Linked DNA regions of Homo sapiens: all the other regions are linked to region 3. The links are contacts of gene promoters, found by promoter capture Hi-C in blood cells and fetal thymus (Javierre and others, 2016). All regions are on one chromosome and are shown on one strand. The core of a region is centred on a gene start or on the middle of the fragment in contact, and the rest is flanking DNA. Distances in the headings are between cores, read along the strand shown.

Region 1 (3,720 bases), core at 303-2,802, 810 kb before region 3:
CCTCCCAAATTCTGGCGGCTGCTTCCAAAGCAGTGAAATTTCCAGTCTTCATGGCCCAAATAATTTTTTTAAATGAGTTCGGGAGGCATCAAATTCTTATTGTAAAAATAAGATAGGCCCACTAACAAAGTACCCAGGGTCCCTAGAAAGCCAGGCGCAATTTGTATGGCTACATGTCATCAACTGTTGTTACCCAAGAGTGTGCCGAGGTCACTTTTTAAAAAGCAACATTGGAAATCGATCTGTGGCAAACATATAAGCTAGTTTTGTTTTTGTTTCTTTTTTAACCAAATACGAAGTCACTTCTTTCTCTGCACTGAAATCTGCCCATTGTCCCTCCTTTGCAAAACCTCTAGAGATTAGAAGGGACATCAATGAACGCGAGTGAACTTTGGCCACTTTTCTACCCAAAACACCAGCGTAAAAGTAGAAATCAGTAACCAGGTGAAGTGCCACACCGCACAAAGATCAGAGGCGAGGGGCGGGCGCTCAGGGCCGGAGGCGGGGAGGAAAATATCCCGGCCCCGCCGCCCCTCCAGCCCCAGTCATCGCGTGCGCGGGAGGTGGAGGGGCGTCCCTGGGGGGCGGGAGGCTCCGCGCCACGGCGAGGGGAGCGAAGAGTTACAGCTTACAGGGCGAGGCCCTTGGAGAAGGGGTCGAAAAGCCGGGCCACCAGCGGATCCAGACGCGCACACCAGGCGACGGCCGCCGGCCAGCCAGGGCTCGGCGAGGGGCGCCGCTCGACCCCACGACCCTCCCCGCTGGCCGGGCCAGGAAGGGGCTGGTGGCTCTTTCCTGTCTAGTCTCTCCCCCCGCGGCTTTCTGTAACCCGATCCCCGCACTCCGCTCCCAGGGAAGCCGCCGCCCCGCGCGCCGCCCGGCTCTGCCCAGGCCAGCGCTATAGTTAGCAACCTTCCAGCAACTCCGCCCGGCGGTGGCGGGGGTTCGCCGCGCGCCCCCCTCCCCAGGCCTGACCCTGCGCGCGTCCCCGGGCCCCCTCCTCCGGCCGTCACCTCTCCCCGGCGCCCCTTTACCTTGGCTTGCAGATACTGGGGGTAATAGTAGGTGGCGTACTGAGGGTACATCTGCTGTTTCCACACTTTGCCCATGAAGCTGGAAGGGAGCCTGCCGTGCAGGGTCGCGGACACTTTGGGGTTTCCAAGTCTCGGGCTCTCCTGCCTCTCCCTTTCCGGCGGCGGCGGCAGCGGCGGCGGCGGCGGCGGCTGCTGCTGCTGCCGCTGCTCCACCTCCCAGCCGGGACCAGACGTCCTCCTCCTCCTCCTCCTCTTCCTCCTCCTCCTCCTCCTCCTCCTCCTCTTCCTCCTCCTCCTCCTCCTCCCAGGCAGAAAGAAAGACACTGCAGAGCGCAGAGGGCACCCCGGACAGGGCGCTCCCAAGGAGTTTCCTCCCGGAGCCCGACTGCTCCGGGGCTGCCAAGGGCTGGCGCGCTGGCCGCGGTCCGCTCGGGCGAGCCGGCTGCGCGGGGCTGAGAGGTGATCAATACAAGTGGAAAGTGCGGCAGCGGCGGCTGCGCTTGGTGCCAGGCGGCATCTGGGGTGGGTGCGCCCGATGTGGAGAGAGGAGAGGGGCTGGCGTTCCGAGGCCGTGGGGGAAGGGCGGGCGGGGGCGGGGCCTGGGCGCCGCCGAGCCCGGGACCCGCTGGAGGTGAGGGCTGAGTTTTAACCACTCCTCACCTCCCAGGCTCGCGGTTGGACGGGCGGAAGCCCTGTGAGTCCAGATCGCTTTGTGTCGGGGGTGGGGAAATGGGAGTGGGAGTGGGGGTGGAGGGGGAATGCGGGGGGACCCAGCTTAAGAACTGCAGGGCGGGCACCTCTTTTGCTTTCCCGAGTTTTTATCTTCGTAAGGGGGAGGGGAAATAAGGGAAAAGAGGAAATCTGATTAATCGTTCACTTCCCACCGCCCAGTAATTTTTTTTCACAAGGGAAGGAAAATGATTTAATGCCCAACAAAGCTGGAGTCTGGACACCTGGGTTCTGTTCCTCCCACCCACCCCCGACCCGGGGCCACAAGACTAATCTAGGTGACCTTGGGAGGGTTAGCGTCCTTCGGTTTGGTTTTCCCAGATGTGAGACGTGAAATCATGCCCCTTGCACAAGGGGAGGCAAAGCACATACATACATACACACACACACACACACACACACACACCCCTCACAACATATAGACGGATCCTTCTAAGAGGGGGATGCCGCAAAGAGGCAGAATGTTATTAGAGGACACAATATAGACATCAGCTTTTCTCTGCCTCTTTCTAATGCTGCCAGACAGTCTGTCAACTCCCACTCAGGAGCAAGGAAACTCCCTGAGTTTGGAATATTTTAAGGCCATTTTGAAAGTCACGCTGGCATATTGTTGCAGTGTGCTTCAGTGACATATAAAATCAATCTCTCTTTCTGCCTCTCTCCATCTCCTAATTGTCACAGCTCTAGACAGCCTCAGACCAGCAGTGGTTCAGTTCACTACATAACTAGATATAATTTAATGGAATTAATTGGTCCCCGAAGCTGCCTGCAGAAGACTTTTATATTCCAGCTCAAAAAGAGAGCTAATACCAAAATGTACATACGGATAGCATAGGTAAGCAAGCATCCTCAAATTAGGGTTCCGGCACATCTAATAAAATGTAATAAAAAACTGTGTTTGTTATTAAATAGACCTTGTTTACTTTGTCATTTTGGTTTTTGAAGAGTCTTTTGTTAATAGCACAAGGTAAATTAAACTCAACTGGAATGCATTATTTTGTTAAACAGTTATTATTTTTATATGATAACATTTTAAAATAGGTTTAGTAAGATACTTTAAAACAATGACAAAATAAGGACCTGAAACCCTTATAATCGTTCTATGGTTTAGACAAATTTCTAGATCTTACATGTTTGACAAAAACAAAATAAATATAAGTATAGGTGAGAACATTTTGGCTCTGCCAGGAGGCAAATCATGTCCCTCTCATTTACCTATGTAAAAGCCTATAAGGAAGCTAATATTTACTATGTCTGCTATATTGTAGGCACTGTTGAGGTGCATGCAGACCTGAAAAGTGGAATGGGTCACTGTCAGACTAGGGGAGCCTAAAATATTTCCCATATTGTTTCAATGTGGGGCCTTTTAATGTTTTTAAACAGGGAACTGACATGAACTAAATTGTGCTTTAGGAAGACTAGGAATGATGGTTTGGAAGAGTGACAGAAGGAAGAGAAGTAAATCGAGAACAATCGCAGAAGTTCTAGGTTTGAGGTAATAAGGGAAACTACCAAACTTAGACTGTTCTACTTACTGTTTTTTCTGGATGATGGAAATTCAGCCTGTTTTAGAGAGCCCAAAAGCAGACCTACACTTGTATAGACACTTGATTTATGACTGAGTTGGTATTATAGCGCAGTGGAGAAAGAATGAACTTTTCAATAAATGATTCTGGGTCAACTGGCAATCATATGGAAAAAATGAAATGGGAGCCCTGCCTCACACATACCAAGGGAGGAGGGTGGAAAATTGAGGTGAATCATGACCTGGATGTGAAAAACAAAAGTATAAAGCTGTTAGAAGACAATATAGAAGAATACCTTTTTGACCCTGAAATAGGAAAGATTGGTTAAATAAGGGGAACAACAGTGTAAGATTGACAGATTTGACTGTTAACATTAAGAACACTGGTTCATTGAAGGATTTTATAAAAAGCGATAAAAGCCACTAAATACC
Region 2 (3,749 bases), core at 991-3,490, 880 kb after region 3:
GAGTCTGGATTGAACTTTATAACTTTTCTCTCATAAAGTTGGCCCAAGGCCAAGGTAAACTTGGAATCATAGCGATCAATTATTATCCTATTTTAGAAATATTCTTATTCATGCCATCTATAAAAGCATGATAGAAAATTTCATCTCATGTAATTCTTCCCCACCACTAACCCTCAAGTTATATCAAATTTTAAAGTTGTGGGAATATCAAAAGTGCCAAATATACTCCAAATGAGCAAAGTTGCCCTTATAACCACCAAAGTTTTAAGGGTCTCACATATGTACCATTTGAAGAGACACCTAAAGAAAGCGGGTTCCAGTCTCCCTTATGTCTGTAGCTTCACAAACATCTCTTCTGACGCATTTTCTTTCACATAGATAGAAGTTATAAGACGATATGACTTCTTTTTTTCCCCTACTTTGCTTTGTTTAAATCTATTTGTTGGCCTTGAGTAGTATTTACTGTTGTTTCCAAATATGTACGTACGATTTTCTTTTGGTATGTCAAAAGCTTAGCCAGATTGCATTTTGTAAAAGATTCAGGGGAGAAATTTTATTCTCTGAGAGGCAATTTAAGGGCTACAGTAGAAGTATTATAATCTCAATTCCCCAGGTCAGGCATTTAGTGTCTGATTCCTAAAACACTTCCTTAGGAGGTATATTGAATCATCCCTAGGATTATTATTCTGAGTCTATCCTATTTAGCTTTTGTTTTCTCAAAGCATTGGATTATAAGGCTTCCTTTTCACAGTTGCATAAGAACAATTTCAAGCAAAAACCAAGGCCAGCTCTGGCTGTCATCTCCACTGTTGTTTATAGACTTTGCATGGGGCCACGCAGCTGCCCATATTCTCTGGGGTGTTTACTAAAAGTTTGATCTAACAACAATTTTGTCCCTTCAGAGTGTAGGTGGCTTATTTACTTTTACCAGATTGCAAGCACACTGAAAACAGAAATTGCAAATTGCACAATTTTATACAGAGTGTACTGCAATGGCATGTATTAATATTAATATTTGCTATGTTGTTGAATGGCTGAGTATATGGGTGAACATATGTTTTCCCTATAGCAGGAAGACTTTCTTCAGATTCCATCCTAAAAATGGCTCAGAGAAAGTAGAGGTATCCAATTACCACCTCTAGTCCATCTTCAATTCTAAATGCCAAAGACAAATTGGTATTACTGCGAAAATCAGTAGAAGGTAGAATTTATGGCTTTGTGTCCTGTATGTTGAATATCATGGCTCAGGTTTAAATTTTCATTTCATCCAAGGAAAATATTAAGAAGCTATTTCTTCTTAGGTTCAAATGGTGCATCTGTGGTGGTAAATAAACCCATAAAAGTATAATGACATATTTTGTTGTTACTGGTGGGTTGCGATGATGACGATGATGAAGACAATGATTTTTTAACCAATGCCAAAATAAACAACTTTTTAGCTCTTTCAGCTTTGGAAAAGATCTAAATAAATTATAAATGAGGCATAATTTTCATCTCTGTTTTCATGTAGTCCCAGGATTACATGTCCTTGATGTTTATTGCATGGTTTAAATGCAAATAGATGTGAGCCATGGTGCTAAAAAAAGTCCCCCATGGAATTAAGCTATAATTCTGAGGATGGCGTTAATATTCTCATTAAGGCACACTACAGTCTTTATAGGAGAAACTGATGTCTCAGTGGGGTTTTTCTTTGAACTATCTCCTCCAAACAAGTGAATAGTTGAAAGGCCAAAAGTCTGAGTCCATAAGAAAGAGGGAGCTTCCAGAAATTGAGTGATAGCTACAGATTTTAGTGTTAGTAACCTACTTACTAATTTGTCGTATTGTACTCAGATAGACTTTTTTTTTAATTGAACATTTTGTTTGTTCCCAGAATGAAAGAAGCACTTGAAAATGTATGGGTTATGGACACCTTTCTATTTTTAAAAATAATTACTTGTGAGTCTAAACTCTTCTGCTTTGATTAGAGACAAAAATATAGAAAAGTGTTGTCTAGGCCTGGCTCCAGGCTGTTAAATACAATCTTTATTCTGCATGTTGCAGTGAAATCATTAAGTATTAATAACATTAAGGGGATAAAAAATGTACTAAAGAAATTTCTAAATTTCTCTTTGCCTGTGAAACAGTGTTTGACCTTTAGCTCCTCACATGCACATATATTCACGACTGAGAGTGCAATTAGCCTGCTACCTTTTAAATTTACGAACTATTATTCTTAGCTTCACCTATTCATAACATAATAATGAAACCCAACAACTATAGAGACATGGCAAGAATTATTTGCACAGTGTTTCTAAAAAAGCCACAATTTTGGTGCCTATATAGTCCTGTTTCAGGAAAAGATGATTGAACCATAAATCATGGTTGAAAATATATATAGTTGAGAAGAAGAAATCAGATTATGAATCTGTGTTTTCCCTAAATGTTTTCATAATATAATTTCTGTTGTGTAAAATGACTATGTTTTTGTCAAACGAAAATAGGCAAACACTTTCATGCTACCATGGCCGACTGATAGCTAGTTTAACCACAAATGAAGGCCTAACATCTAAAAGTATGTAGTGCTGATAAAATCTTGAGCCATTTCTAAACTTAAGAGGCAGAATCCACAATGCTTGAGCAAATTCAGATATTTGTTTTCCTGAAGATCATCATTAGAGTTCAAAGTTTTTCTATCAATTGTAAGAAATGGAACTAAATTAAAAGATATTGGAATGAATGACAACACATCAAAAGAGGGTATTTGTCATTTAGCACTTGAAATCATTTTTCTACACATTCGTTAGCTCTCTTCCATAAATACTTTTTTTTCATATTTGGCAGAAATACCTCTTTAAGATTAGTGATAGTTTTAGACCAAGTTAGAAAAAGAAAAACAAAAGAATTAAGTCATGAAGAATGGAGAAACACAATAGTGATTGCATGACTTTTGTTGCATGTTGACATCTGCTTGAATGAGAAGGTGCTCACCTGACAGCTGTAATCTGGTCTTCAACTTCATAAACACCCAGCTTTCGATACACTGCATAGAGGAGTTTGTCACCTTGGAAAGCTGTTCCTCGACCATCCACCAAGGCAATGACCATCCCTTCCTTACTTGCAAGATAAGATATCCAATTAACAGCAAATACAGACCTTACACTCTGACTGCAGGGACCACCATACCTAAAGGAAAAACAAAAAAAACAAGAATCTTTGATTGCTTTGTAAAACTCAATTTCCCATCCTGGCCAAGCATTGCTTCTAGTAATTCCAGTACAATTATGTGATAAAATAACAATGGCGTTAGAACTGGCTCAAAATCAAGAGGAGTCCAGGCTTTTCCCAGAGGTTTGCTACAAGGAAGTTGTTTTGGGACACAGCCTCTCCTATTCCCCAAAACGGATACATCTAGGGTTGGCATTTCAAGGAATATGTGTGGGTTTTTCGTCATTTCTGCCACCTGCCACTTGCTAAAAGCAGACATAAGATATACTAAAAAAAATGCATGGTGTTTTAAGCAAATTGTGTGTAGGTCAGCACTGATTTTGGGTGTGATTCCACTAAATGTATTCTATTCCTTTATTTCATTTCTAACTCAATTACATAAGATGTGAAGATGATTTACAATATTTTTTTTGGCTGCAATTTCTCTATCTCAAAGGTATTCTGACACATTCGGCAAATTGCCATACAAAGGAAATTTAACACAGCAAATGCAAGCAAGTCCAGCTAAAATCTCAAAACTTCCTCAATCTATTTTAAATAGC
Region 3 (3,931 bases), core at 636-3,135:
ATTCTGCCTTAGCCTTCACTTCTTGCTTCTGTAGTGCCTCAAGGTCACCCAGAGGTTAGAGCTCAGGGCCTTCTCAGGCCTATCTTGAGTGTTCACATAACCCTAGACATATGCACACCCTAAGCACCTTCTACAGTCTCAGGAATATGTTAGCGTTTTTCAAAGCCCTATGGACATCTTATTCCCCAGCTAAATACTTTAGTATGGCTGGAGCAAAAGGTGCTCCAAACAAAGTTTAAGGGTTTTTTTTTTTTTTGACCTTTATAATGAATGTTATGGGGAGCCACTAGTGGAATTTTAAATAAAGAAGGAGCATGACTACATATAGCACAAAAATTTTTACCAGTGAGGTGGAGAATGGATTAAAAGGAATCAGACCGAAGGCGGAAAGATCAAAGAGCATTCTAAAAAAGTAGCCTGGGGAACATGGTGAAATCCTGTCTCTACTAAAAAAATAAAATAAATAAAAACATAAATAAAAATTAACTGGGCATGGTGGCAAGCGCCTGTAGCCCTAGCTACCTAGGAGGCTGAAGTGGGAGGGTTGCCTGAGCCCGGGGACGGGATGTTGCAGTGAGCCCAGATGGCGCCACTGCACTCCAGCCTGCGTGACAAAGCAAGACCCTAACTCAAAAATGCATTAATAAATAAATACATATAAAATAAAATAAAATAAAAAAGAAGTGAGGAAGGTCTGAGTTAAGGCCAAAGTGGGGAGTATTTAGAAGGGGAAGTGGTGGATTGGAAAAGCTGTTATGGAGATTACACATTTCATGGTTTCTACAGTGGGGAGAGATGAAAAAGAGGCAAGTGTTCATACTCTTAAGTTTCTGATTAGGAAAATTATTTGGAGGACGGGGCTACTCACCCCCTCCTCCCATAAAAAATGAATAGAGAGGCATAGGTTTGGGGGGGAAGCATAAAGATGTGGATCCAAATATTACCTATGAGTAAAATAATCTTTGTGTTTTTAAAGGTATTAATATCTTAAAGCAATTGTGCTACTCAAATCACAGTTTGGATCCAGGCGCTGTAATCTTTCCTCACCCTCTGTCCAGTAGATTCATCACCATTCTCGATTTAGGAATGCTTTAAAGATGCTTGTTATTTGGAACATATTTGAGAAAGTGACAGGAACGTGGCAAACAAGCTGCCTTAAACAGAGACTGTACCTAGACCTAGAGTGTAATATCAACTTGTCAAGTATATCTTCTGCAACTTTGCTTTTTGAAAGCCTAGCACAAAGTAGATCATGAGTAAAATGTGATTGCCGATAATTACATGGAGAAATGTGAATAAATGACTCTTTAAACCCTGTAAACTAAACTCGGCTTAAAATAGGTGGTTTGAACATTTGGGAAACCTTAGTTTTCCCTGAAATCCAATCCTTGCAAAGCAATAATGACAAGAGGTGGATAAAGCGGACTTACAGAAAAGGGCGTCTTACCGGTCCCCTCTAATCACACCATCCCCCCTCTTTTAAAAAAATTTTCTTCTCAGATAACCAAGTTAAATCTAGCTCAAATGAACCTTTTAGTTTTTGAGGAGGGCAATAATAGTAGTGAACACCAAAACGAAAGGGGATCTGGGCTTCAAAATACTAACAGTTCTATTTCCTAGCCAGTCGTCTCCCGGGCTGGATGTGCCGCCGTCCCAGATCTCAGCGGCGGCCGCAGAGCGCAGAGGTAGGGAGAGAAAAAGGAGGCGTCGGCGGGGCGCGAGCGACCAGGGCGCTAAGTGCCGCCTCACAGTCCTGCCAGAGACAGGAGACGCCGGGCCGCCCGCGCCGTCTGTCCCAAGAGCTCCTCCTGGACATCCGCTTGACTCTCCGTCGTCTCCAATTGGCCGTCGGGGAACGGAAGCCGAAGCAAACTAGTGAACCCGGAAGTGCTTCGCGGCGGAGGCCCGGGCAACTCTTTTGAATGGAATCGGGCTGATTCATCGCCGGTTTGCAGACAGAGCCGCGTCGGGTGTGCGCCGCTGCTGCTGTTGCCTCTGTCTTCGCGTCACCACAGAGGCAAGACAAGGGTCCATATCGCGGCATCCGGCTCCCGCCCGTCTTCAGGTAAGACCCAGAAGGCAGGCCTGGGAGGTCTGGGGAGGCAGCCGTGCTAGGCCGCCGCCAGCCCCGTGCTTTCCTGAGTCACGTTGCCCAGCTGAGTTGCCACAGGAGGCCTGGGCCGCGAGGGAGGAGCCCGGCCTCCTTCATTCTCTTCGCCTGCTCTCAGGGCTCTCTGGCAGGGTCAGGTCTGGATGTCGCCTCCTTTCTCCATTCTTTTCTGTTTGGCCGAATTCACATCATGGGAACCTCTTCCATCTATATAGAGAGAATCCTTGTTTATGGCCTGTTTGTCTGTGCTCTATCCATAGTTGTTAACCGGTCTGCTTTGAAGTTTTTCAAAGCAGACCGGGAAAACAAGGGAGAGAGAGTAGAATTAACTTTCCCATTGAATACGTTTGTTTTATCTCTTGTCCTTCCTGTAAGCCTTAACCCTTTTTCTGTTAGTGTTAGGTTTTCAGCTCCCTCCAAAAAGTAAACAAAAGTCCTGCAGATACACTGCTTTTGGACCTTGAATATCTTAAAAACAAAGTGTGCTACTATGGCTGTTAACTTACTTTCAATATCATACTAATTGAGTAATTGTTGGTAAATTGATTACATTTCTCGTTTTAAGTAAAGTAGAAATCTGCTACCGTATGTTACATCTTGCAACTTAATTTTCCTGGGGATGTAGCTCTGTGTCTGTCAAAAGAAAAAGAATGTAAACTTTTGAGTCTATAAACCTAGTGACTGAAGGAAAAATTCTCGAGAAAATAAATGGTAATATAAGTTGATAAAATATTATGGAAAGGCAGGGGAAAGGGTTTAAAAATGAGCATAAAATAGAGTTATAGTGTGAAAGTGATTTTGTTCCACTGGTCACAAGTGTTTTTTTAGTGCTTCTGACTTAATGTGTTTGAGAAAAGCAGCAAGACATGCACTGATACTGTAGAAATAACAAAAACATGAACACAGTTTTAGTGGAGATGATTAATATAATGGTGGCCTTCCTGTCACGTAAGGCTACCTACCAGCTGACTCATTTGAAGTTTAGAGGTTAAGATATATAGTGGTTCTGAATTAACTACAGTTAAGGTGTGTTTAGTGAAGTGCTATTTAGTGAAAAAGGCTAAATGTTGTCTTGAATTTGTCCCTAAATCTTGCCAAGGGAAGAAAGTTTTCAAGTGATGATCTTTTATTGATGCTTCACCTGTTGACTTTGGGAGTTTTTGGTTTTTTGTTTTTTTTTCAGCCTAAAGTGCTTGGTAAATAATACATTGCCATTTTAATTTAGGCCGGGTGCGGTGGCTCACACCTGTAATCCCAGCACTTTGGGAGGCTGAGGTGGGCAGATCATGAGATGATCCAGCCTGGCCAAGACTAGCCTGGCTAACATAGTGAAAACCCGTCTCTACTAAAAGTATAAAAAAATCAGCCGGGCATGGTGGCACGTGCCTGTATTCCCAGCTACCTCAGGAGGCTGGAGGTGGAACCTGGGAGGTGGAGGTTGCAGTGAGCCAAGATCGCGCAACTGCACTCCAGCTTGGGCAACAGAGTGAGACTTTGTCTCAAAAAAAAGAGAAAAAGCTGAATTTTAATCTGTTTGACATGGGTTCATCTTATTTTCATACTGGCCATGTAAACCATGTGCTTGTTAATATATAGTTTGTGAACCATATGTATGAAAGTCAATAAATATTATTGCTGTTGTTATTGTTATTATCTTAGAAGTGGAAGAGATTAATCTAGTCCTCTTATTTCAGTAACAAGAAGCAACTGTGCTTTTTTAATTTTCAATTTTGTAGTAACGTTCATTTAATAATTCAGTGTCCACCTGTGAAAGCCTTGCCTGAATATCCATGTGATTTCTTGCTCAGGAACTTGTCATAT

What was found. The method cuts DNA at HindIII sites, captures the fragments that hold promoters and counts their contacts. A CHiCAGO score of 5 or more calls a contact.
Region 1: the fragment with the promoter of RBMS1 here is called in contact with the fragment with the promoter of PSMD14 in region 3 in 2 of 17 cell types (total B cells and neutrophils); the score reaches 5.8 in total B cells.
Region 2: a contact is called between a fragment that was not itself captured here and the fragment with the promoter of PSMD14 in region 3, in 6 of 17 cell types (total CD4 T cells, M2 macrophages, naive CD8 T cells and 3 more). The highest score is 10.9, in total CD4 T cells.

Annotation. Positions count from the first base shown.
Region 1 is chr2:160,492,255-160,495,974 of GRCh38, forward strand. RBMS1 (RNA binding motif single stranded interacting protein 1) reads right to left here and starts at 1,553. Exons shown (of 14, transcript NM_016836.4): 1 at 1,035-1,553. The coding sequence starts at 1,109. RefSeq lists an enhancer at 1,094-1,614 and a silencer at 1,801-1,980. The HindIII fragment of the contact is 13,330 bases long and covers 1-3,720 here.
Region 2 is chr2:162,185,199-162,188,947 of GRCh38, forward strand. It overlaps FAP (fibroblast activation protein alpha), which reads right to left. Exons shown (of 26, transcript NM_004460.5): 20 at 2,971-3,165. Among named protein-coding and RNA genes, the nearest start is that of GCG, 35 kb to the left of the region's middle. The HindIII fragment of the contact is 3,463 bases long and covers 510-3,749 here.
Region 3 is chr2:161,306,540-161,310,470 of GRCh38, forward strand. PSMD14 (proteasome 26S subunit, non-ATPase 14) reads left to right here and starts at 1,886. Exons shown (of 12, transcript NM_005805.6): 1 at 1,886-2,065. RefSeq lists an enhancer at 1,754-2,213. The HindIII fragment of the contact is 7,205 bases long and covers 1-3,931 here.